2 separate regions of the Homo sapiens genome follow, and region 2 is linked to region 1. Evidence: promoter capture Hi-C in human tissues and cell types (Jung and others, 2019). All regions are on one chromosome and are shown on one strand. Each heading gives the region's core, a stretch centred on a gene start or on the middle of the fragment in contact. The rest is flanking DNA. Distances are from core to core; before and after follow the strand shown.

Region 1 (4,224 bases), core at 1,289-3,788:
ATTGAAGATGGGATTTTTAGCAATATTTAAATGGTAATGAAGCTGATAGTTGTTCATAAGGTGCAATAAAATGTTTTAATTTAAATTATTGGGAAATGTAAACTGTCAAAATCTTTAAACGAAAAGTAGTTTTTATCCAAAAAAATTGTCATAAGCATCTTTATTTACTGCATTGGTTTATTTATTCTAAGACGCGTACCAAGCTTAAATACAACAAGCATAGTCCTCTGGAAATCTTAGATTTAAAAAGAGTTTGAACCTGTATAGTAGTATTACCTGGAAAAAGTCAGAAGTATAGTTTCTGTTCAGTTATGCCCAACCTCCTAATAGAGTATCAAGCCTTTACTAAATATCGGGGCACTATGCTTTATTGTAGTTTTTAAAGACTTGTATAATACTAAGTCACACAACACTAGATGTCAACTTAACCTTGTAGGTGGCAGGCAAATCATACAATACTAGAGTGTTTTTCTCTGGCATTATCTAGAAGAGTTGCTGAACACAGACACATTCCTAAAGCAAAACCTCAAACCACCAAGAGACAGTTTCTATAGGAGAAAACTAAGCTGGCTAAGATTTAATTCAAGTAACACAAAGTTCTGGTCTCCTTTACCATATAATATTAAGATGCATGACTCTAATTTTAAAATCTCCTGGGGACAAAGTATGGTTACTCTTAACACTATTAAAATATTGGTTAAAGATAACCATTGGGTACTGGGCTTAATAACTGAGTGATGAAATAATATGTAAAACAAACCCCTGTGACATGTGTTTACCTATGTAACAACCCTTCACATGTACCCCAAAACCTAAAATAAAAGTTTTTAAAAAAGAAAAGAAAAAAGGGCACTTTCTATCCTTCCTTCAAATGGTGGTGATTTTTTTCTGGGGATATGTCAGAAGCACGCCAATTTTGAGTGAATATAGACGTTTTTGAACATGAAATTATCAGAAATGATAACAATTTGGCATCTAGCCAAACTCCCTAACATTCACGTCATTGATACTGAAAAACTGGTAGTACAAGGTGACAGCCTGAGGGGACTGAAGATTTTTGGAGTATTTGGAGTAGTGTGGTTTTTTTCTAATTTTTACCAATAGGATCCCCAGAAATAAAAGACTCTATCGTCACTGCTAACACTGGCTCATAATAAAGGTGATTCTCCAGAGCACGCCTGGTTTGATACCGCCACCCACTCCTTCCCTTGGCGACATTTTCCTGCTAAGAACGCCTAGTTAGCGCAATCCAGCCATTCGCGTTAGTTCTCAGAACTCTCTCAGAAGTTCTCTACCTTCTCTCCTCTCCCCGCCTAGATGCTGAAAGGTGATGGGAACTCGCGGTACAGGTACAGAGGCTATTCCTTTCCTAAGGAAGTGCTGCACAATGGCAGGTTTACCGTACTCAATTTTATAAACCCTCAATTAAACCAGAAAGCTTGTATATAGAGATTGGGTACCCCGCCCACCTCCTCAGATTGTCCTTTTGCCCCGACGCACTGCATCTACTTGCACTCTCCGATGCGGTTTGCCTCCTTCAAATCCAAAACACACATACCAGGCTCCCTCGCCGCTCCTCCAGTCCATGGAAGGCGCCCTTCTTTTTGCCAGCAGCGCGTCCTTCTCTCCCCGCCCGCAGGCGCTCACCTCTTCTCTAATCCCGGGGGCCCGCACAGGCTTCTCTAATGCAAGGGCACCCCGTACCATTCCCAAATCGGCGCGGGGACCCGTGAAACCCTGCCACCACTGTACACTGTCCATTGTCGAGAGTCGCGCGGGCACGCGGAAACGGCGGGCCCCGAAAAGTCTCAGCGAGCTTGTACAGCCCCAAGACATTCCCCACCCCCAACACATCCCGCTCTTGTTCCTCCTTAGGGGGAAGACGGAGTAAAGGGGAGTTGAAGAGGTCCCGAAGCTCCTCCTGGTCCCCCACCTCCATCCCTGCCCTGGCAGCTGGCTCTGGCCTCTGGGCTCCGCGGTGCCCATCCCTTCAGGGGTCAAGTACAAGGTCCTCGGCCGAATCGCCTCCCCGTTATACCCTCCCTCTGCCTTGAGCGCACAAACGCGAGAGAACCCTCGAACGGATGCCATATGGCAGAAACAGGATCGCGGGCGCTATGAGGGGCCAGCCTAAAAAGATCTCCTTCACACCCCCTCAACCCCTAGCCTTTCTCCCTACCCCGCCAACCCCCACTAACCACTTCTAACTTCCTCAGCCCAACCCTGTCTGTGCTTTCTAATTCCCACCCCCCCGCCCCTGGACAGCAGCCATTCGCCCGGCACTCACCTCAGGGAGCAAACAACGCCCCTCTCCTCCACCCAGACCGCCCCCCCTTCCGCCCTCTGGAACGGCGTGGTCCCTCCGCTCACCTCGTCTCTTGGCTGCCCCGCGCGAGTTTGAGTGTGTGTCTGCCGCGTAATTGTATCCGGGACAGAAGGGACCTGTGTTTGTGCGCTGAATCAGGTGTCGCCGCCTTCGGTGGTTCGGGGGCGTAAGGGAGGCTTCGGAGTTAGCGTGTTGGCTAAGGAGGGCTCTCTGGGTTCACAGTTGATAGCAATGCTTTAACCGTGTCCTCCCTCGGGTCCTCAGCGCGCCTGCTCGTCCGCAGCTCCCAGCGGGCGGCCAGGCCCCCCGCCCCCCAGCCGCGCCCCGCCCTGCGTGCGGCGAGCAGAGTCGGAGCGCGCCGCTGCCCTTCCGCACTTGGCTCAGCGGGGCACGACACGGGCCGCCACGCGCTCAGCCTAGCATCACTCGCCTCTGACTGCGAGCGCCTCCAGCTCCCCGGGCTGGGGCATGGATGCAGACGCGCCTTCGTACCACGCGCTCGCAGGCTGGGCAAGGGGCAGCGCGTTGGGATCCGGCCAGTCGTCCGCTGAGCGAGGTTGGCTTGCAGGCTGGGACTTTTCGCGAGCCCTCTGGGCGCTCGAGTTGCGAACTCTGACAACGGCACGTGGCCCCGCCCACTCTTCCCTCTTTGCGAGGCGTGTCCCGCGCCCTTTCTGCCACCACCCACGTAGTCCCTGTGCCCGCCTTTTATCATCAAGGCGGCTCAGTGAGCTCTGCGTGTTGATGTCGCGCCTTTTCTCATCTTCCTGCCTTTCCTGCCTCACTTCTGCTGAATCCATTCAAAAGTTATACTTGGGCAAGTGGGTGGAGGAGTTAGGAAAATTAAAAGAGGGATGCTTAGGTGAGCAGGTACCTGCACTGCCGCCAACCCAGGCTTCAATTCTGGCTCTCTTGTAGCGGAAAGCCTTAAAAAACGCGAGTTTGGGGATCCTGAAAAAAAGTAAATAGGGTTGCTGGGCTGAATAACATCCCTCCTCTCAGGCTCCTGCTGAAAGGGCCATTCATGATTTGCCTGGTTGAGCCTGTGGCGACTTTATTCTGACGAATCTGCCTTTGCCAGCAGCATAACCTTGCCAAGTTGGCGTCTTGACCAGCAAGCAACTGTGCCCAAGGAAGCCTCTCTGTGGTGCCTCAGACCTGAGAGGCCGAGTGCCTTTGAGCGCCTGAGGTAGATTGTGAGTTTCATGAAAACCGAGAAAGTCTAAGTGTGCATGTGCGTAAGATATTTTATATATATATATCTCATATATATATGAGATATGTCTATATAACGTGGACTGAATTGTTTATTGTTTATGTTTCGTGTCGAGCATAAATTCCAGAAGCTAAGATGCTTCCATAGCACACAAACGTTATGCGTTTAAACGTTGGAAATCAAAAATGCCATGTCAGGTCATTCTGTCCTTGTTCCAAAGTGAGATTCAGAAATAGGTTGGGATTTTCTGCCCTTAGATAAGAAAACGGAAATTATATTTTACTGTATATGTTATCAGTTAATGATAAATTAAAAAACTAATATACACTGCTGTTATTGTAAAATCCATATGCTCAAGAATGTTCATGGATGGAGAGATCTTCAAATGCCATTTCAAAAAAGAAAATGCACTTTTCTTCTTTGCAGATTAGGAATTTGAACATATTCCCTGTGCAAAATGCAGGGAATATTTTCACAGCCTTTGTACCTGATTACCATACTCTCTATTTATTTCTTATTTAAATTGCACTAGAAAACCTAAAGTAAATGAAATGTAACATAATAAAGAAAAGAGAATTTAGACATTTACTTTAAAAGCTTTATTTCTCAAAGGTCAAGCTTCAGTTTCAAGCTACTGTTTGATGATGCATATGTAAATTCTTGGTAAAAACTTGATCATTAG
Region 2 (4,224 bases), core at 1,248-3,747, 120 kb after region 1:
TCTCTGGGACTGGCCGAGACCAGAGCTGGCTCCATCTGCTTGCCAGGAGGTGTGGAGGGAGAGGCGCGGGCAGGAGCCGGGGAGCTGGGTTCCGGATGGGTGCAGGCTCAGCGGGCCCTGCACTGGGCGCAGCCGGCCGGCGCCTACTGGGCTTGACTGGGGGATGAGCTCCCTTTGGGCTGCCGGAGTGCCTGGGCTAGATGCCGCAAAGTCCCACAGCGAGTGCCATTGAGAGGTGAAGCCAGCTGGGCTTCTGGGTTGGGGAGGGACCTGGAGAACTTTTCTGTCTAGCTAAGGGTTTGTAAACACACCAATCAGCACTCTGTGTCTAGCTAAAGGTTTGTAAATGCACCAGTCAGTGCTCTGTCAAAACGGACCAATCAACTCTGTAAAATGGACCAATCAGCTCTCTGTAAAATGGACCAATCAGCAGGATGTAGGTGGGGCCAGATAAGGGAATAAAAGCAGGCCACCCAAGCCAGCAGCAGCAACTCGCTCGGGTCCCTTTCCACGCTGTGGAAGCTTTGTTCTTCTGCTCTTTGCAATAAATCTTGCTGCTGCTCACTGTTTGTGTCCACGCCACCTTTATGAGCTGTAACACTCACCACGAAGGTCTACAGCTTCACTCGTGAAGCCAGCGAGACCGTGAACCCACCAGAAGGAAGAAACTCCGGACACATCTGAACATGTGAAGGAACAAACTCCAGACACACCGTCTTTAAGAACTGTAACACTCACTGCAAGGGGCTGCGGCTTCATTCTTGAAGTCAGCGAGACCAAGAACCCAACAATTCCGGACACAATATCAGTAAATTATTCCACTACCAGAACCAGGAGAGTGATAAAATGAAAGCAAAATTTTAGAAAAGTAATCTGAGAGGAATTTTGGGAATCAAGTAATAATGTATAGAAGCAGATAATTCAAATAGCTTGCTGAGATATCAACATAAAAAGGGCTTAGGCTAGAATAGTAACAGCTAATAAAAATTAACATGACCAACTACTGTATACCACATTTTGTGCTTGGCATTTCACAACGACTTTCAGGATAAAGTTATGAGGTAGGTGATATTATCCCCATATTACTGTCTGGAGGTAAAGCAACATGACAAGGTCACATAGCCAATAAATAGAAGAATTATGATACAAACCCAGATCTTTTTGGTTCTGAAAACTGAAATCTTAACCACTATGTTATAGTAAGATTAGAACAGAAATGTCAAATATAATATTTTGGAGAATCTTTTGATAACAAAATAAGGAAAGAGAATGTGCTTGAAAGTATTAAGCAGAAGTTATCAGTGCCAACGACAGATCAGATGACAAAGCTAGACCCTGATGCAGAATGCCCACCTCCTACAAATAATTGTTTCTGTCTTGTTTCCCATCACCATTTATATCATCACTGCCACTATGATCATCCAGTAGCACCTACACTCTCATCTTCATACTTCTTTCGATATTCTTCTATTTACTCCCTTCCATCAATGCTTCCCTACCTTATAAACCCTTCCACTCTGTTGGGGGACTAATGGACACACACATATCGATGGTTCCTCGGAACAATGTAATGAGTTCTGTGTTTCTCTTTTTGTGTGGTATTGCTGTTCTAAAAACTACAGATATCAGTGTTTTTACAAACTCAATGTAGATTGATGCCTAGAAAACGATATCCTCTTCTGTTCCCACCATTCTTCTCCAAACCCTATCACGTCCTTGAAATACTGTTCTACGATCAGTATGTTCCCGTATATTCTGTCTTCTCTGTAAATTCCCTCCAGTTCCTTTGTCCCAACTGACACTTCAGAATCTTCTGAGGATCTGAGGAGATTGCCTTCTTTGTAGCCTTCTCAAGCAGAGGTTTTCTTTTGTTCTTCCGCACTAGCCAGTTCTACCCAATCTGACTTTATAATTGCTGATCCACCAATTTTGTTTTCTACATCTACCTGTCTATCAGCATTTTTATTGAATTCAAAATCCAAGAGGAAGACCTATTCAACAGGCTGATAATGCATGGTTTGCCCTCTTCATTTTAAATAACATTTACTGCCATCTCCATCTCAACAAATCATCCCCGTGGTCAAATCCTGTGGTAGCACTCCTCACACAGGGGCACCAGCTGCCGGGGTCTGCCTGCAGACCCTGACCCAGCGACGGATGAATAAAGTACACTGACACACAGATAATCTGTTTTGCCAGTTCAGCTGAGTGTCCAAGCCATTTACAAATTCCCTGCTGAGTATTGTGAACAGTTGCAACTATGGCCCAATCAGCTGATGAGACTCACATTTATTCAGTAAGATTAATTCACAAAGGCTTGAGTCAACACCATTAGAGGGTAATTGACATTGTGGACTTCCCGAGTAAAAAGCACTTAAGCACCTGTGGTACATCAAAGGTTAGTCTTAAGACCACATGAGTAAACAAGCTAGCTAGTTAACTACCCCACATTCCTTTGTTACTACTCTACTTTATTTAACTAAAGGTTAAGATCAGGTTGTCTTCAACCATATCTGTTACCAAAGTTATGCAAACTTCTTGGCCTTCCAAGATTTGTGTCTATCTCTGTAACTATCTCTAATATTTTCCCTACCAGCCTGACTGAACCCAACAACATTCTAGATGCTTCTCTTCTAGAAACTATGTCAACTACAGCATCTGTATTTCAACCATATTGCTTTACAACGATTGTCTTTTACTTTTCTATCTCACTTGCAAAAGTACCATTGCTGAAATAATTCCTCAACTTCATTGAGGACCAATTCCTTGACCTCGCGATTTTCTCATTACCATACTGTCTCCTTGTATATTAGTTTTCCTTTTAAACCACATTAGATTATATGGTTCCACACTACCATCACTCATTAAAAAAACTTGTTTGCAAATATCCTCAATTTCTCTACATCTGCCACTTTCTATGGTAATTCTCTGACAAACCAAATTTTTAATGAGTAATTCACCTTCTAACATGAAGACAGAAGAAACTTCTGTGGCTGGAAAGAAATATCATATGAGTAAGCTGACTGGTTTTTACTTAAAGGGAACATCATGAGCTTTAAGTGGGCATTCTACATGGGCAGTCATATTCTAATGAGGAAACAGAAACAGTCAGAGAAGAACTTTCTTGTTTTCTTCTAACCAAATCTATAAAATGGCCTTAATCTGCATCTATCTGAAACTTTTTGCAGTGTATTTTCCATCACTAATCACAGCATACAGGTTTCAAAGAATTTCTACAGGACTGAAAAAAACCAAATCATGCCAAATAGTGGGAGGAAGAGCTACCTTATTCCAAAAAATACTAGTATCAGAACTCAGGTTTCATTAAATACATTGATACCTAGAATAAAAGACTCTCTTGCAGCTTTCTGTGGCCAGATGACTTTTGTTCAATGAAATATTAAGCACTGTGTTGTATCTCCAGAAAGTCCCCATTTTGCTTTTCTCTTCTTTATTCTTATTTTTGTGCTGTCATGAAAGTGATTTCAGGAGCTTCAGAATCCATCTAATACCATGAAGTAACCTTGAAGAAACCATGTGCAAGGGCTACAGAGGAGAAAGAAGAAAGCCTGGCCTCTAATCACACTGTGGATATGCTTCCACTGGCCAAATCTGGATTTCTTTTGTATAAAATAAGATAAACGTATATGTTGTTTAAACCACTTTTGTTTGTTTTTAATTTTTCTGTCATATGCATACATCAAAATTCATAAATGATGTGGTTTACCTGCAAATATCAAGAATATGCAATACAGGCTGGGGTACAGTGGCTCATGCCTGTAATCCCAGCACTTTGGGAGACTGAGGTGGGCAGATCATTTGAGGTCAGGAGTTCGAGACCAGCTTGAGCAACATGGCAAAATTCTGTTTACAAAAATACAAAAAAATTAGCCTGGCTTGGTGGTGCACGTCTGTGGTCCCAGCTACTAGGGAGGCTGAGGTAGGAGGATCTCCTGAGCCTGGGAGGCAGAGATTGCAGTAAGCTGAGATCCCGCCACTGCACTCCAGCCTGGGCAACACAGTGAGACCCCATGTCAATATATAGATATGAATTCATATATAATAATAATATATAATATATAATAATAATTCATATATAGAATTCATATATATATGAATTTTTTAAAAAAAGAAAGAATATACAAGAGAAGTTTAAAACTTACCTGGTAATAAGGGATAAATGTGTAATATAATAATTGCTTTCTATACAATTAAGCCTGAGTT

The links. The method cuts DNA at HindIII sites, captures the fragments that hold promoters and counts their contacts. A contact is called where the count stands out against the background at its distance.
Region 2: a contact is called between a fragment that was not itself captured here and the fragment with the promoter of UGT8 in region 1, in 2 of the 25 tissues and cell types used here (H1 embryonic stem cells and spleen).

Annotation. Positions count from the first base shown.
Region 1 is chr4:114,597,121-114,601,344 of GRCh38, reverse strand. It overlaps UGT8 (UDP glycosyltransferase 8), which reads right to left and starts at 2,538. Exons shown (of 6, transcript NM_001128174.3): 1 at 2,371-2,538. The HindIII fragment of the contact is 5,100 bases long and covers 822-4,224 here.
Region 2 is chr4:114,477,897-114,482,120 of GRCh38, reverse strand. The region is part of intron 2 of LOC105377379 (a long non-coding RNA gene); the gene reads right to left. Among named protein-coding and RNA genes, the nearest start is that of UGT8, 120 kb to the left of the region's middle. The HindIII fragment of the contact is 5,639 bases long and covers 1-4,224 here.